7 separate regions of the Homo sapiens genome follow, and regions 1, 2, 3, 4, 5 and 7 are each linked to region 6. The links are contacts of gene promoters, found by promoter capture Hi-C in blood cells and fetal thymus (Javierre and others, 2016). All regions are on one chromosome and are shown on one strand. The core of a region is centred on a gene start or on the middle of the fragment in contact, and the rest is flanking DNA. Distances in the headings are between cores, read along the strand shown. Region 1 holds the start of LEP (leptin). Region 2 has its middle 5.2 kb from the start of MIR129-1. Region 3 overlaps PRRT4 (proline rich transmembrane protein 4). Region 4 holds the start of HILPDA (hypoxia inducible lipid droplet associated). Region 5 overlaps LOC124901744 (a long non-coding RNA gene). Region 6 holds the start of ARF5 (ARF GTPase 5). Region 7 holds the start of IMPDH1 (inosine monophosphate dehydrogenase 1).

The links. The method cuts DNA at HindIII sites, captures the fragments that hold promoters and counts their contacts. A CHiCAGO score of 5 or more calls a contact.
Region 1: a contact is called between the fragment with the promoter of LEP here and the fragment with the promoter of ARF5 in region 6, in 4 of 17 cell types (neutrophils, monocytes, erythroblasts and 1 more). The highest score is 10.7, in neutrophils.
Region 2: a fragment that was not itself captured here is called in contact with the fragment with the promoter of ARF5 in region 6 in 2 of 17 cell types (naive B cells and endothelial precursors); the score reaches 6.7 in naive B cells.
Region 3: a fragment that was not itself captured here is called in contact with the fragment with the promoter of ARF5 in region 6 in 5 of 17 cell types (fetal thymus, neutrophils, total CD4 T cells and 2 more); the score reaches 9.4 in fetal thymus.
Region 4: a contact is called between the fragment with the promoter of HILPDA here and the fragment with the promoter of ARF5 in region 6, in 2 of 17 cell types (fetal thymus and non-activated CD4 T cells). The highest score is 9.0, in fetal thymus.
Region 5: a contact is called between a fragment that was not itself captured here and the fragment with the promoter of ARF5 in region 6, in 1 of 17 cell types (neutrophils). The highest score is 7.8, in neutrophils.
Region 7: the fragment with the promoter of IMPDH1 here is called in contact with the fragment with the promoter of ARF5 in region 6 in 1 of 17 cell types (fetal thymus); the score reaches 5.4 in fetal thymus.

The regions. Positions count from the first base shown.
Region 1 is chr7:128,239,856-128,242,758 of GRCh38, reverse strand. LEP (leptin) reads right to left here and starts at 1,481. Exons shown (of 3, transcript NM_000230.3): 1 at 1,453-1,481. RefSeq lists a cis regulatory region at 1,527-1,535 and promoters at 1,453-1,699, 1,453-2,903. The HindIII fragment of the contact is 7,258 bases long and covers 1-2,903 here.
Region 2 is chr7:128,201,305-128,204,042 of GRCh38, reverse strand. No RefSeq gene overlaps it. Among named protein-coding and RNA genes, the nearest start is that of MIR129-1, 5.2 kb to the left of the region's middle. The HindIII fragment of the contact is 2,166 bases long and covers 313-2,478 here.
Region 3 is chr7:128,348,817-128,351,516 of GRCh38, reverse strand. It overlaps PRRT4 (proline rich transmembrane protein 4), which reads left to right. Exons shown (of 6, transcript NM_001174164.2): 6 at 1-1,192. The coding sequence ends at 661. Among named protein-coding and RNA genes, the nearest start is that of RBM28, 6.3 kb to the right of the region's middle. The HindIII fragment of the contact is 5,699 bases long and covers 1-2,700 here.
Region 4 is chr7:128,454,439-128,457,347 of GRCh38, reverse strand. It overlaps HILPDA (hypoxia inducible lipid droplet associated), which reads right to left and starts at 1,470. Exons shown (of 2, transcript NM_013332.4): 1 at 1,325-1,470; 2 at 1-147. The coding sequence starts at 79. It also overlaps the pseudogene EFCAB3P1. RefSeq lists a silencer at 1,418-1,557 and enhancers at 1,658-1,827, 2,736-2,909. The HindIII fragment of the contact is 2,271 bases long and covers 1,421-2,909 here.
Region 5 is chr7:128,218,590-128,221,434 of GRCh38, reverse strand. The region is part of intron 1 of LOC124901744 (a long non-coding RNA gene); the gene reads right to left. Among named protein-coding and RNA genes, the nearest start is that of MIR129-1, 12 kb to the right of the region's middle. The HindIII fragment of the contact is 935 bases long and covers 955-1,889 here.
Region 6 is chr7:127,587,022-127,589,721 of GRCh38, reverse strand. It overlaps ARF5 (ARF GTPase 5), which reads right to left and starts at 1,311. Exons shown (of 6, transcript NM_001662.4): 1 at 1,157-1,311; 2 at 559-639; 3 at 128-237. The coding sequence starts at 1,223. The region is part of intron 1 of LOC105375490 (a long non-coding RNA gene); the gene reads left to right. RefSeq lists enhancers at 1-610, 611-1,237, 1,238-1,863, 1,864-2,490 and a silencer at 985-1,474. The HindIII fragment of the contact is 7,240 bases long and covers 1-2,700 here.
Region 7 is chr7:128,408,701-128,411,402 of GRCh38, reverse strand. IMPDH1 (inosine monophosphate dehydrogenase 1) reads left to right here and starts at 1,421. Exons shown (of 17, transcript NM_000883.4): 1 at 1,421-1,647; 2 at 1,919-1,962; 3 at 2,051-2,114. The coding sequence starts at 1,502. RefSeq lists an enhancer at 765-1,004 and a silencer at 1,275-1,894. The HindIII fragment of the contact is 8,032 bases long and covers 1-2,702 here.

The DNA of each region.
Region 1 (2,903 bases), core at 232-2,731, 650 kb before region 6:
ACTTCCCTGGCTCTGTCCTTGGCACTTGGAGCCATTTCCTGGAATGGACGGGGAGGAAAATATTTCCCCAAATACCAAGAAGAGTTATTTTGGGTATAAAATGTACAAAATATGAGGAGGACGCTCCTTTAGCCAATGTGGAAATGTTCCCCTCAGCCCAATGTCCACAACTGCTTGGGAAGGGAAAGAACCTAAAAGCATCCACTGTTTCTCTCTTGCCTTGTCTCCCTGCCTAAGTGAGAGAAATGATCAGTGTGGCCTTCTTGTTTCTAAGGGCATTAGAACAGGAGCACTCACGTTGCTAGAAGCCTCCATATCTGGTTCTGCAGACAATCCTAATATGAAAGAGATTGGCAAAATTCCCCAGTTCCAGCTGCCCATGGCCCACCTCAGAATCCTACAGAACAAACACAACTCCGGCTGCCAGAGGTCATTCTGCACTGCAAAGGAAGAGAGCCTGTGCTCCTGGAACGGTACCACCAAGTCTCTGCTCTTCACCCACCTCCCCAAAGATCACCCTTCCAACAGAAATTAATCACCTCTTGGAAGCTGCTATTCTGAAATGACAGCCAGGCCACTTGTCTCACTTGGACCTAACTGTATTTAAGGAGTCACTTTCCCAAAGCACCACTATCTTTAAACTATAGAAACAGGAGTGTAAAGGCGATGGCACCCACAGTGAAATCCAAACCAAGCCCAGACTGAAGGAAGGCTATAGGTGAGCCTGGTGGGCCAACAGCGCGTATTTAGCAGTCCTGGCTAGAAGTTCCCTAATAACCAGTTCTGACCCCCAGAGACACCTCATTGTATGCATTGCAAAGAAGGCAATTTGCATGGCTTTGAGGACAGATCTGGTAAGACCCTGCACAATTTCTCTGGAAGATTTTGAGTCTTCCTGACACTTGTTTCCCCCCACCTCTACTCATCCTTGCCTTCCTCCCAGGCATTGGCCTTACACAGCCCCTCTCATTCAGAGGTCAGGAACTTCCCTGGAAAATGAATCCTGAATTCCTACCCGCAGAGCAAGGCAATGTCTGGGACTGAGACTGATCACTTGCATCTGCGTCTCTCCTACCCCCAACTTTATCTCCTTCAGACTGGGGTGGGACATCCTGATCTTTGGGGATGTGCCCAAGGCAATTTCCAATGCATCTCAGCTCTGCGAATGCCACCAGGTTGGTGGGTCTGACAGTCTCCCAGGGACCTGGCTGGTTCTGCAAGGTCCTGCCTTCTGGGCACCGGCACAGCCCAGCAGCAAATCCAACGCTCCCCAGCTCCCGGTAACCTTCTATCTGGCTAGAACTCGGTACAAAGCTATCATAGTCCAGAACTAAGCCATCCGCCCTGCATCCCTCCTGACTCAGTTTCCCCGGGATCCAGAGTTGTGTGGGGCCCTGTGGCCTGCCAAGAAAGACCAGCAGAGAAGGAGGAAGGAGCGCGCCGGGGCCTTACCTTGCAACCGCTGGCGCTGCGATTCCTACGGGGCTCCATGCCTGCCCGCCCCTCTTATAGCGGCCCGATCACAACTTGCGCAACTGCCCCGCAGGCCCCGGCGCATTTCTAGCGCCAGCTCCCGCCCCGCCCCTCAGGGTAGCGACGTGCCGGGCGGCTGCTAGCCCTGGGCCCGCAGTGTGCACCTCGCGGGGCCTCGAGGGAGGGCCTCGGCGCGCCAGGAGCCACGCGCGCACCCTTGGGTACCTCCCAAAAATTTGGGGGTGGCTGGTAGGAGCGAGAAATCCTTGATGTCCCTCCAGAGGCTCCGGCGCGACTATGGCGCAAGGACCAGCCCCTTGGGAAGGTGCTTCGAGCCGCGCGGGGCGCGGTCGGGGCGGGGGTGGCTGTGAGGGGCTCCGCGGAGCGGGCTGGGGCATACGGCTGCGCCCTCGTTGGTCCTGGCGCGGCTTCGGGGTGGGAGCGAATCGGGACTCGGCCCCGACGGCCCTGGACGCCAGGGAAGCCCAGGGTTAGAGGGAGCGGCCCGCAGTGCGCCAGGCTCCCCGACCCAGATTGCGGGGTTGGGGGTTCTGAAGTCCCACCCCTTCTCTGGCACGCGGAGAATCGAGTTCCAAGCCTCAGGGCAAGTTGTCTCTGGCTGGCACCCCAGGGAGTGCACGCTCTCTGGAGGGCTCCAGGCGGGCACTGTGGCCTTTGGGGACACTCTGGACATACTGTGGGTCTCCATCCTCAACTCCGTATTTCCTACGTACAAAGTGGGGGTTGGGGGGTGGTCCCAGATGTAGCCACGTTTTTGTCATCATAGCCTGTGAGTGGTGTGGTAGGCATGTTTCACCTGTATCGTTTGTAGTTCCCCGCTTTACATGATGGGTTGGTTTGTTTTGTTTTGTTTTGTTTTGTTTTACCCTTGGGCTTCAGGGATGAGGAATCTAAGGTCCAGCGAGGTTAAATGACTTTCCTTAGAATCCACAGCTGGTAAGGAATAGCAATGGGCTAGGAACCCAGGCCTATTCTGGTCCCCACTGCGCAGAGCAGCTCCAAAAACAAACCACTCCATTGAGAACCAACCCAGCCAGGCGTGGTAGCTCAAGCCTGTAATCCCAGCACTTTGGGAGGCCAAGGTGGGTGGATCACCTGAGGTCAGGATTTCGAGACCAGCCTGGCCAACATGGTGAAACCTCATCTCTACTAAAAATACAAAATTAGCCAGGTGTGGTGGTGAGTGTCTGTAATCCCAGCTACTTGAGAGGCTGAGGCAGGAGAATGGCTTGAACCTGGGAAGTGGAGGTTGCAGTGAGCCAAGATCAGACCATTGCACTACAGCCTGGGCAACAAGAGTGAAACTCTGTCTCAATAAAAAAAACAAAACAAAACAAAACCCATAACATAAAGCGGGGAACTGCAAATGACGTTGGTGAACCGAGCCTGCCACTGCCGGGTTTGGTAAT
Region 2 (2,738 bases), core at 146-2,645, 610 kb before region 6:
TCCCCACTTCTTGGACCATCCACACAGGCTGACTCGGACGTCAGAGGCTCACATTTCCAGTTGCTTCATTAACAGAAACCAGCCCTTGTGTGGGTCCTCCTGCTGCAGAAGCCTATGCTTGTTGAAAACAATTCACAGCCTTTCCTCCCAAACCAGCAACCCTCCAGAGCTTTTCTGGCCAACACTCGACCCCGTCTAGGCATTCGTGGTAGGAGGGTTTCTCCCTATAAGTGACAAGGGGGCCATAGGAAACCCCCAACTCTCACCCCTCCAAACTGCTCCCTCCCACTTCCACTTAATAGGGAGGAAGCTTTCCTTGCAAAGGTAACAGGAAACAGAGCAGAAAGCATCTTCCTATGGAGGTGAAAATGGCTGAGATGGAGCCTTTCCTCAGAACTCACTGCATTTCACTGAAGTGGGAGTGGGGAGGGGGAAACAGGCTTTTGAGCCTGTTAGGAGCCTGTTAGGAGGAAAGGGAGGAGGAGGGGCAAGGGAGGGTAGGGGAGTTGGGGAGGGCAAAAAGGGGACCCAAGCAGGGCCCCACTAGCCCCAACAGACCCTTCGCGCAAATGAGAGAAAGGGGCCCCCTCTCCCAGACCTGCCAGTGTGGCCGGGCTCGTAGCCAGAGCTGGTTTCAGTCCCAGCTTGTCCCCTTGGCCATCACCTCTGTTCAAGGACAGTGGACACAGCCACATACCTCACAGGCTTGCTCCTGTCTGCCAACTGTGATTCCTCCCCCTGCCCCTGTTTCAGATCAGTCCTCAGGTTTTGCCTCCACAAGCCTCTTGGACCCCCTGCCACCCGCCTCACCAGCCCAACCTCCTGATTGTGGCCCGTCGCCCCTCCGGGAATAAGCTGTGTACTTGGCTGAGATTCCCACCTTCCCCGTGTCCCTCCTGGGACTTGGCAAGCATAAAACATGAGCTGGCGCATGGACAGAGGTCTTCAGCTTCCCTCTCCCGCTTTCTTCCCACGCAGGCTTTTGGACCAGGTTCTGAAAAGGACTTTCCTCAGGCCACTCCCCTGAAGAGGATAAGGGGTGAGGGACCCCAACCAGCATCTGAGATCGCACAGGGCACAGGGTGGTGAGGTTGGATCTCCTTCTGGCTCAAATGTGTGCCCCACCCTGTCCCACCAGCTCTTCTGCCTGGCACCCTCTGCACAGACAGGACCACCAGATCCTGCACTGTCCCTCCTCCCAAGCCCAGCCATAGTCCCAGCTTACCTCCCACCCCTCCTCCAGAAATTCCTTCCTCCTCTGTCAGAAAGTCTTCGCCATACACCCTTCTCCTCCCTTTCCCCATCCAAACCCTTGCCTGCTGAGTGGAGATAGATCAATCTCTCCTCTTTCCTGGAACTTCCCTTGGTACCTTAATCCCTTTCCCTGAATCCCTGCAGCTGGTGCCTCTGGGCCCTACATCTGCTCCTCAGTTGTTGGCTTGGCAGACGTCAATGAGTGCCTGCGCACGCCTTGCTCTGTGCTGGGAGCTGGGGATGTAGAGACAAGCCCACCACAGACCCTGTCCTCCAGGGGCCCCCAGATTAGAAGGGAAGTGTGGACATTTCTCCTTGGGTGCCCGGAGCCCTTCCAACTAAACATCCCGAAGCAAGCGCATCAGCCTCTCCTGGAGCCTGATCTTTCTCCTGGGCCGCTTCTTCCCATGGCACCAGCACAAATAATGATGGGGCAAAATCAGCATCCATGGGGACTGGACGAGGGTCCCAGTACTGCAAGGCCCGGGGAAGAAGATTCTCCAGGCTGAAAGGGGTGAAGGGGAGGAGGAAAGGAGGCTTCACCAAAGAGGTAATATTTGAGCTGAGCTGGGAAGGATGGGAGGGGTTTTAATCTGAGACGAGGAGGAGGAGGAGAGAGAATGGCAGAAGCCAAGGCTCAAGGCCGAGACATACACAGAGGGGCTGATTTGTAGGCACAGGAAGGGGAGAAGTGAGAGAAAAGGTGGGAAAGGATGTTCAGGCAAACCTTGGTGGTCCGTGCCAGGCGAAGAGCCTGCTTTTCCTCTACAGGCAATGGGCAGTCTCTGAAGGTTTTGGGAAAAACCTGCGAAATTGACTGGAGGAGGGAGAGGCTGCTGCAAGTCGGGGAGAAAACAGAGGCTTCGCAATGCTGCTGAGAGGTAATGGATGGAGGCTGACCCCGAAGGACGGACGTAGGAGAGGAGGCAGCAAATTTATGAGAATATAAGAGACAGGAAGGGGTAAGGCACAGGTCGTCTGGGAGGCAGGGAGAGGGGTCCCGGCGACGAGGACGAAGGGCAGCCACAGGAGTAGAGCGAGGTGGCTGGATCATATGCAGCATGCGGTCCAACGTAATAAACAGATGTCGGAGACCCACCACGTACGGGGTCGTTTTCTGCTCTCAAAGTGTAGGACTTGATAATGACAACGATCTGTGAAGGGCAGAATAGGGACAGTGGGAGGCAGACAGAGAAGCCGGCGGAGGAAGGAGGCGTACAAGCTTGGGGGCCTCGCTGAGTCCTGCACACCTCCGCTGTGGTCCAGGCTGAGCGCCTCCTCGCACTGTCCCTGCAGCCTGGCCAAGTGGCTGGGGTCCGCGGGCAGCCTGCGGGAACCGACCCGGCAGGAGCCCCGCCCACCTGGGAAGGAGGCGCCTCAGCGCCAGGGAGCCACGTAGCCACGCCCACCCCGGTGGGCCCGGGTGGGGCGTGGCCTCCAGAGACCGCAGGGACGCGACCCCCTGCCCTGAGCCGGGAACTCCA
Region 3 (2,700 bases), core at 65-2,564, 760 kb before region 6:
GGCAGGGCCAGGCCCAGACCTCCTACTCCAGGGCGGAGGTTGCCGGGGCTTCGAAGGCGCGGCGGCCAACCCGGCCCCGTCCCCGGCTTCCTCTCCCTGCAGCGATTACACCGTGGACTTCCGCCCGCCCTCCCCAATCAACCTGCGACGCAGCATCGAGGAGGCCCTCTGCAGCGAGGCCCTGCTTGCGCCTGGCCTCTTCCAGGGCCCTGCCTTCGAGGACGCTCTGCCTGGGCTCGGACTCTACCGCACCGCCTCGCTGGGGACCGGGGGCAGGGCCAGTGAGAGATCAGGGGAGGCCTCTGGCCCCGCTGCGCCCCCGGAGCTCCCCTCCCCTGGGGCTTGGCCCGCAGGCAGCAGCGTCTCATCTGGCTCGTTCTGCGGACTCTCGCGGGACAGCTCGTCCATGCTGCTGTGTTCCAGCCCCGACAGGCCCCCGCGCTGCCCTCTGGTCTGCGTCCTCAGTCCCCCGCGGCCCTCAGGAAGCAGCCCCAGCCTCCCGGCCTCAGGATCCTACCAGGCCCTGTCCCCACCCTCTCGCGACTCCCCAGAGCCTGCTTCTGAGCTGCAGGCCGAGGAGGCCTTGCTGCAGGAGCAGTTCCTGGACGCCTGCCGACAGATCGACGAGCTGAGCGTGGGCAGCGACACCATAGACCTGTGAAGAGGTGGCCACCTTGCTACCCTGCGATATGCCCCTTTCTGGCGCCTGCCCTGCCCGAGACCTGCACACTGTAATCCTTCCCCAATCCTCCCTGGCTCAGATACCTCTCCAGATTCCTTCCCCATCCAGGGGTCCCTGGGTGGGTGGGTCAGCAGCCAGGCTCTATCGATTGGGAATCAGTGCCACCTTCTCTGGAGCCCTGGGTGCTGATGCCCTCAGCTGCAAATCTAGGTTGGCAGGGGTCCCATTTTCCTTGGCATTCACCAGCAATAAAGCTCCAAGGTGCTCCACTCCTGACCACCACTCCCCACTCTGGTGCTGAGTGAGAGGGGCTGTCCTCAGAGGACCCTGGGACCTGCCTCAGGCCCCCCTACCCACCTCTGCCATGCCTAGGAATCCCACCCCTGTGTGAATGGGACTCCCTTTCCTCCATGTGACACCCACAGGGGTCCATGACCCATCTAGGAGACTTTATAGCAGTTGGGTGGGAGGGGAATGCTCTTAATTTATCAATAAAATATTTTCAGAGGAGCAAGGTCTGACTTTTTTGGGAAAACTCAATTGAGCAACAGCACCAGTGATTCCATCACTAGTGGAAGAGAAGCAGCTCTTGGGTGGGGTGGGTCCATTCCAGACCCCAGGGACCTTCATACAAGACCAACGAGTCTTGTCCTGTTTCTGGGATGAGTGGGGTTACTGGGAGCAGCCCCTTGAAGACTCTTCTGAATCGTTGGGAAGTGGCTTTTCACAGAGATGGGACATCGCCCTGGGAGGTGAGGCAGAAACTCTACTGTCATTGGTGGAAATGCCTGCATTCTTAGGAGTTGGCTTCAGGTCCTGGTAGACAATTGGCTGGGGACTAGTTAGGAGTCAAGTCCTTCATGGAAATATTGAGACGCATGTAAAAGGTCCTGGTCACCTTGAGCTGGGATCCTCAGCAGCCTCCCTGCCATGTTCCCACAGTTTGGGATCCACAAAGAGGAAACTACCTTTCTACCTTTTCACCCACCAACAGGGGCTCTTCAACCCCCTCCCCCTTCTCCTGAAGAACTCTCATCTCTAATAGGTGCAGATCCTCCCTGGAGAAAGCCTGTCCAGCCCAGCCAGCTCCTGTAGCAAAGTTCACAGTGAGAGACCCACAAACACATCCAACCACCAGGCACTCTGTAATCCCTCCCTTGCCTGGAGCATTTGGCTCTGCGCTCTGTGGTGTGTGTTTGTCATTTGGCTAAAATGCGGTGGTTCCGAGTAGCACAAAAACAGGGTTGTGGATTAGGTTTGAAAACAAAAATCTGACAGTGTTTTGGCAGCTGTCCTGCATATCACAGGGAGACCTGCAGGAGCATACACACTAGGCTCAAAGTGGAAGCACAGGAACCTCGTGATTTTTTTCTTCCAACTTTGCCCATCAGCTCCTGGGGACTGGAAGGGAGGCTTGGGAGCCAAGAGGGAAGCAGGCAGGGAAGCCAGGAGAGGGTAGAGCCCTTGGCCAGACCAGGTCCAATGCAGGAGTGGAAGAATTCAAGCACTACTCTCCTTGCAGATGAACATCTGTCTTGGCTGAGAGGAGCGTCCAGGGCCTGGGACCTCAGATGGAGGAGGAGAATCAGTTGTGTTTGGAGGAGAGAGAGAATCATAGTGGGGAAGAGAAATGGGAGGGAGGTGGTGCCGGTGCGGTGGAGGGATGGGACTAGAATGGTTTTGATTGCGTCTCCTCCATCACCTGGCTCAGAAATTCTTGCTGCATCCTCACTCTGGGCTGAGGCCCAGAGAACTGCCAACCTCCTAATTACAGGCATTTCTCACTGGTGTCATAGTGGCTGCAGTGGGCCCAGCATCAGAGTTGCTTTGTGTCATGCAAGGATTGTTGCTGCTCTGAGAAACTGCTCCCTTTCTTTCCCACTCACTCTTCTATCTGCCTCTCATCTGCCTCTGCTCACACTCAGCTCCTCGATGCCATCTCTTCCTCACACTGGTCCTTGCCAGCTCCTGTCTCTCTCACTCACTCTCCCCAACAAGGGTCCTTGGGTTCATGCACA
Region 4 (2,909 bases), core at 221-2,720, 870 kb before region 6:
GGGACTCCATCACTCTAACGAAGATGGAGAGTAGGGTCAGTACCACACCTAACAGGTAGAGGTTCAACACATGCTTCATGGCTGAAAGGACCCTACTCCTCTGCAGAGAAACAGAGCTGCCTTCTCCTTCTGAAAGGCCTCTGGACCCTGAGAAAAAAGAGGAAAGGATGAATCTATAGCCTTTTGGGGATATGCATGCATCCAGCCCTGACTCTTCTGTCCTCTCACAGGGCTGAAGGAGAGGCTTAGCCAGTGAGGGACACAGGGACCAGGGAGTTGCACAGCAACTCTCCAAGAATATTTTACATTGCAAACTTCATGGCTGCGGAGCCAGTGTTGCTTCTTGGACTAATTCAAGAACACTTCTTAAAACTTTTACTTTCTTAGGCCAGGCGCGGTGGCTCATACCTGTAATCCCAGCGCTCTGGGAGGCCGAGGCGGGTGGATCACCTGAGGTCAGGAATTCGAGACCAGCCTGACCAACATGGTGAAACCCTGTCTCTACTACAAATACAAAAATTAGCCGGGCATAGTGGCACATGCCTGTAATCCCAGCTACTCGGGAGGCTGAGGCAGAATTGCTTGAACCCGGGAGGCAGAGGTTGCAGTGAGCCAAGATCGCGCCATTGCACTCCAGCCTCGGCAACAAAAGCAAAACTCCGTCTCAAAAACAAACAAACAAACATTTACTTTATTGAAAATTTTGTTCCTGCAAGGCACAATACACAACCCCTGTGCTACAGTGCAGGCATCAGTCACCTTCCTGAAATAGGCCCAGTCCTTTTGCAGGGGGGTGGTGGGTAATGGGAAATATAAGAACATGCCCTGGAGAAAGGAACCTGCCTAGAAGTCTCTCCCACATCACAGATTGGAGTTAACTACAAACTTTTTGCAAGTCCAAATAACTCTATGAGGGTCAAATCTATCAAGTTCATTTATTTAACAAACATACCATGAATATCTGCAATGTGTTAGGTACCCTGGAAGATACTAGGGCCACATTGCAAACCTTATAGACAAAGGGTAGTTAACACGCAACACGCTAAGTGTTGGGACAGCAAGGAGATCGTGAAGGTGCTCTGGGAGGGCATGGCAGGGATGCCTAACTCAGCACCTGTGGGCGTGGGATGGGCCACGTGGATCCTAGTTAGGACCACCTTAGGACAAAACAGGGCTGACGGCTGAATGGGGACCCCAGATGGGGCGTGGGCGATCAGAGAGGATCCCGGCGGCGCACCCCCAGCCCTGGAACGCGAGGCTGCTAGCGCGGCGAGCACTCTAGCGATGGGGGTGGGGAGCCGGGGAAGCCCACAGGGCCGCTCACCTCCGGGGGAACAGCCGGGAGTGGATCGCCGGCTGTAGGAGCAGGTCGTGCAGGAGTCCGGAGGAAAGTCGGTTACTAAGCACCAGCGCAGAAGCTTCCCGCCACAAAACTCACCGGAGACAAAAGCGCCGTCAGCCGCAGAGCGCAGAGCAACGCCGCCCAGCCTCCGCCCCTTATAGCCGCGAGCACGCCCCAGGAGGGTACGCGCACGCGCACTGGAGGCCGCACGCACGCCCGGGACGCACACGACGTGGCGCACGTCCGCGGCCCCACCCCGCGGGCAACGGGGTTTGGGGATTGTCCCGGGTGCTCTCCCGCGGAGCTGTTTCCAAAAGTACACGTCGTGCGGTTTTGAGTCATTGTGTTCTGGAGTGAGACGAGGCGTGTGTATTAATCTCGACTGCCATCTCTGCTGTAGAAAACATTTGAAGGAGTCAGAGAGCACATATCCCTTCTCCCCAGTAGGTGAAAAACACCGATGGCCTTCGTGTCCGTGAAGCCCCGCCGTGAAGGGTGGGTTCTTCCCCAGAGATTTCGGGTGCACTAAATTGTCAGAGGGCACCAGACCCCTACCCCACTCGTTATTTTCTTCATTTCAAGGACTGAAGAGCTGGTTTTGTTTCACTTCATAGCTGTACCAAGATTCCAAATCCCGAGTTTCAGTTGCCATCGGTATCTCTGGAATGGTGAGGCCCTTGTGCAACATATTAAGCTCTGCAAGCTCTGCTTTCTATGAGAGTTTGTCGTGTCGCTTCAGAAAACGTGAAATACTCCTGGCCCTGGTGTGGGATCCTAACTGCATATGGGCAAGTCACTTGGTATTTAAATGGGCCTCGGTTTTCTCATCTGTAATGAAGACATTGGCCACTAGATGATTTTTCTTCTTCTTCTTCTTTTTTTTTTTTAAATAGAGACAGTCTCGCTATGTTGCCCAGGCTGGTCTCGAACTCCTGATCTCAAGCCATCCTCCCACCTCTGCCTCCCAAAGTGCTGGGGCTACAGGCGTGAGCCACCGCGCCCGGCCGCTAGATGATTTTTAAGGGTGCTTTCGGCTTGAACTAAAGAGCCAGGAGGTCACAGACCAGCCTTATGTCCAGATTTGGGGGGCTAGGCTGCCTTACTAATCACCCCCGAACCCACCCAGCCAAGACTGTGCGGTCTGTCTTGAGAGCACGCAACGGGGGATCTCAGAAAGTAGAGTCCCGGAGAGACACTGGGAATGGGGAGGACCCCCGGGAAGGGGTGTACACGCCGTGGAAGGGAAGGCCGCTGGTGGCTTTAGAACTGGCGGTTCCGTGTACCCGGGTCAAGTGCCCGTGCCGGATGGGAAAGAACCCTGTGACTTTCCACATCTCAGCGAGCTCGGCGGGCTCTGCTTAAGAAGGGCTCTAAGACGGGAAGGGAGGAGCCATCCCCACTGCGACCTTTCCCCTCCTTTCCTGGCTGGCTGGCTGTGGTCTGTCGGGAATGAGGGGGTGGGGAAGCCGGGAAAGCAGAAGGTTGGGGCTGGAGGTCTGCTGGCAGGCAGGCAGACATTTGGAGCCAACTTTCCTGCTCAGCCCGCAGAACTTTTGGTCCTTCGCTA
Region 5 (2,845 bases), core at 173-2,672, 630 kb before region 6:
ACCACTGCTCTACTGAGAATTCAATAAAGACTTTTTACAGAACATTACTACAGCTCTTTTTACAGACTCCTACAGTGCTATACAACCCAACATTTACATGTAATTTTCACTTCAGCAAGATCTTTTAAATTTAAAATCTCAGCACAGTCACTGAAGCCACAACTCCCTATCTAATCAAAGTTTCTATCAATGTTAAAAGTTGGTTGTTGATTTTTTTTTTTGAGTCCTCAAAGCTGTCTGTGATTCCAGAGAGCTATGTTCTTCCCATATACAAAACTGTTCCCCTGATCCCATATCTGGAATAGTTTTTCCAATGAAAGAATGGTTTTGCGAGAAGACACACATGCCTTGGTAAACTAGCTCTCACAAAGAAGGAGGAGGAGGGAAGGAGGAAGAGAAACCCCGATTTGTAGGGGTTTACCAATTTCCATGGTATAAATACTTGCACCACGATAGATTTCAAGCTACTAATGATTTTAAAAATTGGCTTACAAAGCTCCAGAATATTTTACACCTGGCTCTCACAAGCCACTATAAGTCTGCTCCTGCACGTCACTGCTTGTGTCTCTCATGGTCACAAAAGCCCATTTTATAGATTTTAATCTGGGTCAGGGGTAAAATCTGTGATCTTGATCAAAATGAAGTCAACTAGCCCCACCAGGACTCAATCTCACCATCCGGTTTCCATTCTCGCCATGCTTTAAACCCTGAGCACAGGGTTTAAAGCTGTGCTGGGAAGCAGGAGGAGACAAAGGACCCCTCAATCCCCTGCTGCCTCGAGGATATTCTCTTTCTCTCCCTTCCTCTGTAGTTCACTCTCCAGCTCATTCCCAGGTCCCGGGTGAGCTAGCTGAAGTGGTCATGATAATACTAATAAGCTGATTTCAGAGAAGAGTTTAGTTCATTGCACCTTTGGGAAAGACCTCGGCTGGTGCTTTCCTAGGATAACAAGCTTCAGTGAAACTAACAGGGACCTGAGCACAGGTCACAAATCCATGTTCATCTAATACATGCTTCTGGTAAACCTCCCCAATTTAGAAGGACCACACATTTGCTGGAAATCAGTCACCCCACTGGCCATGGGCATTTTCATGGGGTCTTGGTCTGCGTGGAAAAGTGAAAAGTCAGTGAAGAGCAAATCCGGGTTGGATTGGTGGCAGGTGGAACAGCTGCCCAAGCATGCAGTGCTTTGTCTGGAATGGAACATCTCTATTTTTCATTCACCAAAGGTTGTGGGGGCTTCAACAAGTGCTTCCAGCCTGACTTCCTGCTGATGACAGGTGGTCAAGGTGATGTTCAAGTTCTCCTTGGGTCCTCAGTGACTCTCTGCACTCCATGTGTGTGAAAACGTGCAAGGAACTTTCATCCCAGAGGCAGAATTGAGGCGTTCCAAGGGGGCAGGCCATTGAATGTTCAGAATTCCAAGTTCATGGCTAGGATGTGGTATTTAAGAGGCAAACGATGATCTGGGAGCAGACCTTGGAGAAAACTGGGATTGGAGGAGATATACTCTACCAAATTAAATATAAGTGGGAACTGCAGCAGGCATCTGACCTGGAACTGGAGGTTTCCAGAGCAGCTGGCATGGTGAAGGAAGGACACACAGAATTGGAATTTCCCCACCCCGTCCTCTGACTGCTCTTGTTCCTCCATCAGGCAAGACTTGCTGGGAAGCAGGAGGAGACAAAGGACCCCTCAATCCCCTGCTGCCTTGAGGATATTCTCTTTCTCTCCCTTCCTCTGTAGTTCACTCTCCAGCTCATTCCCAGGTCCTGGGTGAGCTAGCTGAAGTGGTCATGATAATACTAATAAGCTGATTTCAGAGAAGAGTTTAGTTCATTGCGCCTTTGGGAAAGACCTTGGCTGGCGCTTTGCTAGGATAACAAGCTTCAGTGAAACTAACAGGGACACTAACTCACTCCACTGCTATATTCTTATTTTATATGCTGAAGGTGTCAATAGTCACTACCATAAGTAGAATCTGCTTTTCCTCTGGCAGTGGAAAGGCTAAATTGTAAATGGTGTCTTCAGGCCTTCTCTCCCTTCTAGGACTTCTCTGAGTTCAGGGGAGGGTGGACACAGATGACTTCAAACCTTCCCCTACCCTTGGGGTCCCTGGTCAGTGTTCTCCATAGTGTATGACGGCATTTGAAACATCAGTAATGACTATCCTTTCTCTTACACCCATACCCTCTCTTTACTCATAGTATTATTTTGAGGAATACATGAAATTATAATCATTGTAACTGAGCATCTACTATGTGCCAAATCCTGTGCTAGATATTTTTAAATATTATTTCCGAACCTAATAAAAACATCGTGCCATTTTATAGATGAAGAAACTGAGACTCAAAGAAGCTAACAGATTTGCTCACAGTCAGTGAGTGTTTAGGTTTTAGCTCATGTCTTTTAATCTCTATTTTTTAAATTGTTATTTTATTTTTTTAAAAAGTAAAATAAAATGGAGTCTCACTATGTTGCCCAGGCTGGTCTCGAACTCCCAGGCTCAAACCATCCTCCCACCTTGGCCTCCCAAAATTCTGGGATTACAGGCGTGAGACATCGTGCCCAGCATTTTAAACTCTAAGGCTCACATTTTTCTACTACACTACCATGTTATATAAAACATGGCATCAGACAGCACAAAATTAGGTTGTGCTGCAGTTATAGGCAGCCTGAAAATCTTGGTGGCTTACAACAACAAAGTTTTACTCCATCCTCACGTGCAATGCATGATACACACGCCTCATGTCTCTTCTCGGAGCTCGGTTTCCTAGTATTCCAGGATTCCAGCTGGTGATGGAAGAGCCACCAGACTGTTGCCAGTTCCCATGCTAGAGGGAGA
Region 6 (2,700 bases), core at 62-2,561:
CAGAAGGGGTAGAAGTGGGGAAGGGTTTTTTCCTTGGCCTGGGGGCCCAGCCTAGGCCAACAATTCTGTTCTCCCAGCCCTAACACCTTTTCCCGTGGGGTTAGAAAGTCCCCTCCCAACACTCCACCTGAGTGTTCTGGAAGTAGTGCCGCCACAGAGGCCGAATCTTGTCCTGGCCTCCCACGTCCCAGACTGTGAAACAGATGTTCTTATATTCCACTGTTTCTACATTGAAGCCTGCAGATAATTGGAAAAAAAAGATGAGAAAACTCCTGAAAGAAAGGAACTCACTAAAACTACTTAGATTTCAGCAGGGACACAAAACCAGAAGGCAATGATCAAGGCCCAGGGGAACAGAACCCCAGAACTGGCGGTCAACAGGGCGGGGCTAGGTCACATCCACCCTGCCTCCGGTATCCACGTAGAGATACCCTGACCCACTTCTCAAATAGCTGTATCTGGTGTCAGGGTCAGCTCCAGAAAAGTGGCAGAACTGGGAGCAGACCCCGCGAGGGCCCGCCGCGGCGCTCCCGCTCCCTGCTTCGTCCCCGGGCTCACCTATGGTTGGGATGGTGGTGACAATCTCCCCCAACTTCAGTTTGTACAGGATTGTGGTCTTGCCAGCCGCATCCAAGCCAACTGCAACGGAAAGGGGCACAGGGATGGAGATGGGAGCGAGGGAGCCCCCTAGAGACCAGGGAAAGGGAGAGGCCACAACAGCTGATGGTGACTGGGGCGGAGAGCGGGAGCGCCTCCAGGTGCGCGTCGTTATCTACCTTTGAGGCCTGGAGGGCAGTCGGGTGGCGTGAGCCAACTCCAAAGAGGGCGCGGAGCGGGAGAGGACTGGGAGGCAAGGGGCACGGGAGGTAGGCCGCGCTCGTTTTAAAAGTCGTCTCCAAGGGCGGAATCCTCCCTTCTTACCAGCCGGGCTGGGGCGGAGGGAGCTTCACCCCACCCAGGCCCGCAGCTCCGGGTGTCAGGCCCCGGGGTCGGCGATGCAGACCGGGACCCGCCCGAGAGCAGAGGCCCCGGGGCGTTATGAGGTGGGTGACTCGGGGCCAGAGACCCAGGTGAGCGGGGCTGGAGGGACGCGGGGGCGGAAGGGCTGCGCCGGGGCCGGCGCCCCGGTCCGGGCCGCGCGCTCGATCTGCCTCACCCATGAGAATCCGCATCTGCTTCTTCCCGAAGATCCGCGAAAAGAGCGCGGACACGGTGAGGCCCATGGCGGGGCCCGGGGAGGGGCGCGGGCACCGACGCGGGGTGCGGGCTGGAACTGGCCGGCCGCGGGGGGATGGGGCGCAGCAGCAGCAGGAGGAGGCTCCGCCGCCGCCTCCGCGCGTCGCTGCCCTCCCGACGTCACCGCGGGCCCGCCCCCGTCCGGGCCCCGCCCCCGGCTCTCGGCCCCGCCTCCCCCGGCTCTGGCTCCTAGGGGAGCTGAAGCTCCGCGAGTTGCCGCTGCTGGCCTGGGTCCCGTGCGGCCCTTACTTGGGAACGGGTCTAGGTCTCTAACGCGCCTGCCAGGCCTGTGGCCGCCGAACCGGCAGCCCGAGCGCGGCTGAGGAAAGGATTCATCGCTCCGCAGCGGCCCCTGCCCCCATTTTCAGTGGCCGGCCGCTGGGCTTTGGTTTGTTGCGTCCAGGCCCCTAGGGGCTCCGGTTTTAGCCCTTGGGAACCAGTAGCACTGAACGTGTGCACCACTCTCCTTTGGGGAGTGGAAGCTGCGATTAGGGGTCTTGGTCCTCCCTTTACTGCCTCATCTTCCACCGAGGGACTTGCGCGTAGTAGGTGGTCGTGTGAAGAGTGCGCGGGAGGTAGGGGAAGGTGCCCGAGTGCTAGCTAGCTTCCATGGTTCCTCAAAACGCCTACTTCCTAATTCCCAATCCGCAGAACCAGTGTAAGATTCCCGGCCTTGGGCGGCGGGGTCACAGACCCACTCCTGGGCTGTTGGAGAAGTCCACCTTCGTTTGGATCGCCCTGCGGGCCCCGCCTCTCAGTCCAGGCGCTGGCCGCTTTGCCGAAGTTCCTCACTTTGCCACAGACTTGTGGACCTGGCTTATTCTTGCACATCCATTCAGGATTTTGTGAAGATCTTGACTCCGTAGACCCAAAGAGCTTCACATGTCATTTCCCTGCCTCATTTTAACATCTGAGAGGAGAATAGCAAAATAGGAATGAAATTCTTCTGCGGTGGAGACTGGCTCATTGCCAGGCATTATTAGGCCTAACAAATGCTTGTTCAGTTGAACTGGACTGATAGATTCTCAATGGAGCGAGGGTAGGTGTTATGTCTACTCTGGATTCCCAGTGGGCTTCTAGGATCAATTGTTTATGGACTCGAGGTAAACTGAGCTGGGAATAAAAAAACCTTCACTCATTCATTTGCTTTTTCAGCAGATATTTACTGAGCACCCACCACTTGCCAGCACGTGATTTCAGGCTTTAGTTCAAATCTTAATTCTGCCATTTCTTGAGGATTTGGCTTCAGCACTCCTCATAACTCTTCCGTTATTTCATCATCTATAAAATGAGACTTGTTCTAACTTAAGGGGTTATGGTGAATCTTAAAATGATTTGATAATGTGACTGAATGTTATGTATAATACAGCTTGATGTTATTTGGGCCACTGAGAAACGGGGTCTGAACAGACCTCCAGGGCCTGCCCCATCCTGATCTGCAAAGTCTGTAACAAGGACAGACTT
Region 7 (2,702 bases), core at 172-2,671, 820 kb before region 6:
TCCTGATTCTGGGGAGTGGGTGTGTATGTGCATAGGAAGAGGCACGATGAAGGATAAAGTCCAAGATCTTACTGTTGCATAAATTCAGCTTCCTTTGTGAAATCGTTGCTGAAAGTCTGACCCCTAATACATCTTAGCACTCCTCAATCACGCAGTGTTTACCATTTGTTCCCTCAGACTTGTCAGACAAAAGTCCAGATGCGCCGGGCGCGGTGGCTCACGCCTGTAATCCCAGCATTTTGGGAGGCCGAGGCGGGCGGATCACAAGGTCAGAAGATCGAGACCATCCTGGCTAACACGGTGAAACCCCGTCTGTACTAAAAATACAAAAAATTAGCTGGGCGTGGTGGCGGGCGCCTGTAGTCCCAGCTACTCTGGAGGCTGCGCCAGGAGAATGGCGTGAACCCGGGAGGCGGAGCTTGCAGTGAGCCGAGATCGCGCCACTGCACTCCAGCCTGGGCGACAGAGCGAGACTCCGTCTCAAATAAAATAAAAAATAAATAACATAACATAAAATAAAATAAAATAAAATTTCCAGATTCTTCTCGACTTAAAGATGGGGCTACCTCAGGGTAAATCCATCTGTAAGGTTGAAAAATCTTAAGTCAACCATTGTAAGTCGAGGACCATCTGTATATGGCATGAGAATTATCAGCTGTTTATTTTCATCTACTTTGTCTCCTGAAATAAATTGCCTGAGGGCAAGGACTCTTACATTTCTTTGCCATTTTTGCTAGGTGTTCAATCACCGTTCACAATGATAACAGTAGGAAAAAGTGCGCCTTCTAGTAAGTGGACAAACAAGTTTGAGTACACTGCTCTGCCCCACTCCCTTGTTACGGGGTAACATAACAAGGTAAAGTACCTCCACAACGAGGCAAGACTAGGTCCTGTTCCTTAAGGAGCCCGCAGCCTTGTCTGTTCTGTTCGTTCCCTGGCAGATTACAGGCTGTGGAGATCCCTCTCCCCGCTCTCTAACGTGGAGTCGGCTGAGCACGACTCTCTCGCCCCAGCGCGGGAGGTCTGCGGTCTGCGGGTATGAGGCGCTCCAGGGGACCTGGCATCGTCGGCGTGCAAGAGAGGAGCGGACCTGAGACGCAAGGAGAAGCCCTGCCTCTGGAGTCCAGCTCCTTTCCTCTTCTGGTTTTCCTCGGAAGGGGCCAGGAGACACTGGAAGGTCCGGACGGCAGGGAAGGGGACGGGGTTCTTTCCAGTCCCACCCGTGTAGGGACACCTCTCCCCCTCATCCCCCGATGTACCCTCGCTGAATCTGGGATGGGAGAGACGAACCGAGTCTAGGCATCTGCGTAGCAGCGCCGGGGAGAGCGGGGAGCCCAGGGCGGAGCCCAGTCGACTCCCGGATTCCCCTGCCCCGCCCCCGGCACGAGGCCCCGCCCCGGCGGCCCCGCCCCTCCTCGGGACTCGACCGGGCTGCGCTCACTGCCCAGCCGGGGCCCCGGGAGCCTCCAGGCTCCCGCCCGCCCTGAGCTGCGGCCTCCGCATGGAGGGGCCACTCACTCCACCACCGCTGCAGGGAGGCGGAGCCGCCGCTGTTCCGGAGCCCGGAGCCCGGCAACACCCGGGACACGAGACGGCGGCGCAGCGGTACAGCGCCCGACTGCTGCAGGCCGGCTACGAGCCCGAGAGGTGACGCCCAGGGCAGAGCGCGCGGGGCGCATCCGGGGCGGGCGGCCGAGGAGGGCGCGGCGGCTCCGGGAACCCGGCGACGCTGCGGGGGAGGGGCAGGCCCCACAAACCCTTCCCCTATTACCGCCTCAGCCTCTAACTTCCCGAAACGCCACGCTCCCGGCTTTGGTTGGGGGATGCAGACGGGCACTGTGCGAAGGGTTAGGTGCTTCGTTGCACGGGGGAGCGGAGGAGAGGGAACAGGTCGTAAAAACCTTCCCTAAAATCTTAGCCCTAGATTGGACCTCGCTACACACCCGACGACACCCCGTTCAGGTGGCTCCAACTCCTGGGGTTCAAACAGTGCTTGCTGGAGTCCTGTCCGACTGACTTGGCTTACCCCTCCTTAGCTGTTTCCTCCTAGAACTATCTTCAGTGGTCTTACTGGCAGGTGTTGGTGTCCAGATGGATCGCCTTCGCAGGGCTAGGTGAGGACACTCTCCCCTCCTCACCATGCACTGAGATCTGAGAGGCTGCCAGTGCAGCTCACCTCAAGGTCTCTCCGAAGACGCAGGCCCCCATGCTGGGGTCTGTAGGGGAATGAGGGACACTGGAGGAAGAGTAGGGTAGTGAGCTGGGCCCCAGGGGGACTGGCTGAAAAGGAGACAGCAGCTAATCTCTGGATTGTATCGCAGCTTGAAATGCAATCCCACTGTCCTTCCGGTCCAGAGGATTTGGACTTCTTTCTCTGCCCATCTGCTGGTGTTCAGCAGCTTGGGGAGGTGACCTGGCAGCTGGGTTAGATGGGGGTGGTCTGGGGGAATTAGCCCGGCAGCTCTGCCCAGGGGTTGGCCGCTTATGTAAGAACTTTTAACGGCTTAAGGGGCTCCTCGGCAGTGGGGCTGCTGAGTTAGGCCCCCCTGTCCTGGCAGGCTGCCTCTCTAGAATTGACTCAGGCTTAGGCAACTCCCAGCCTTTCTCCTGTCCTAGAAATCCAGCTCCTGGGGTTCAGGCCGCAGGGCGATAGGGAGGGGCCACAGGGGCTGAATGAGCCGGTTGGGGCTTGACAGAGGCAG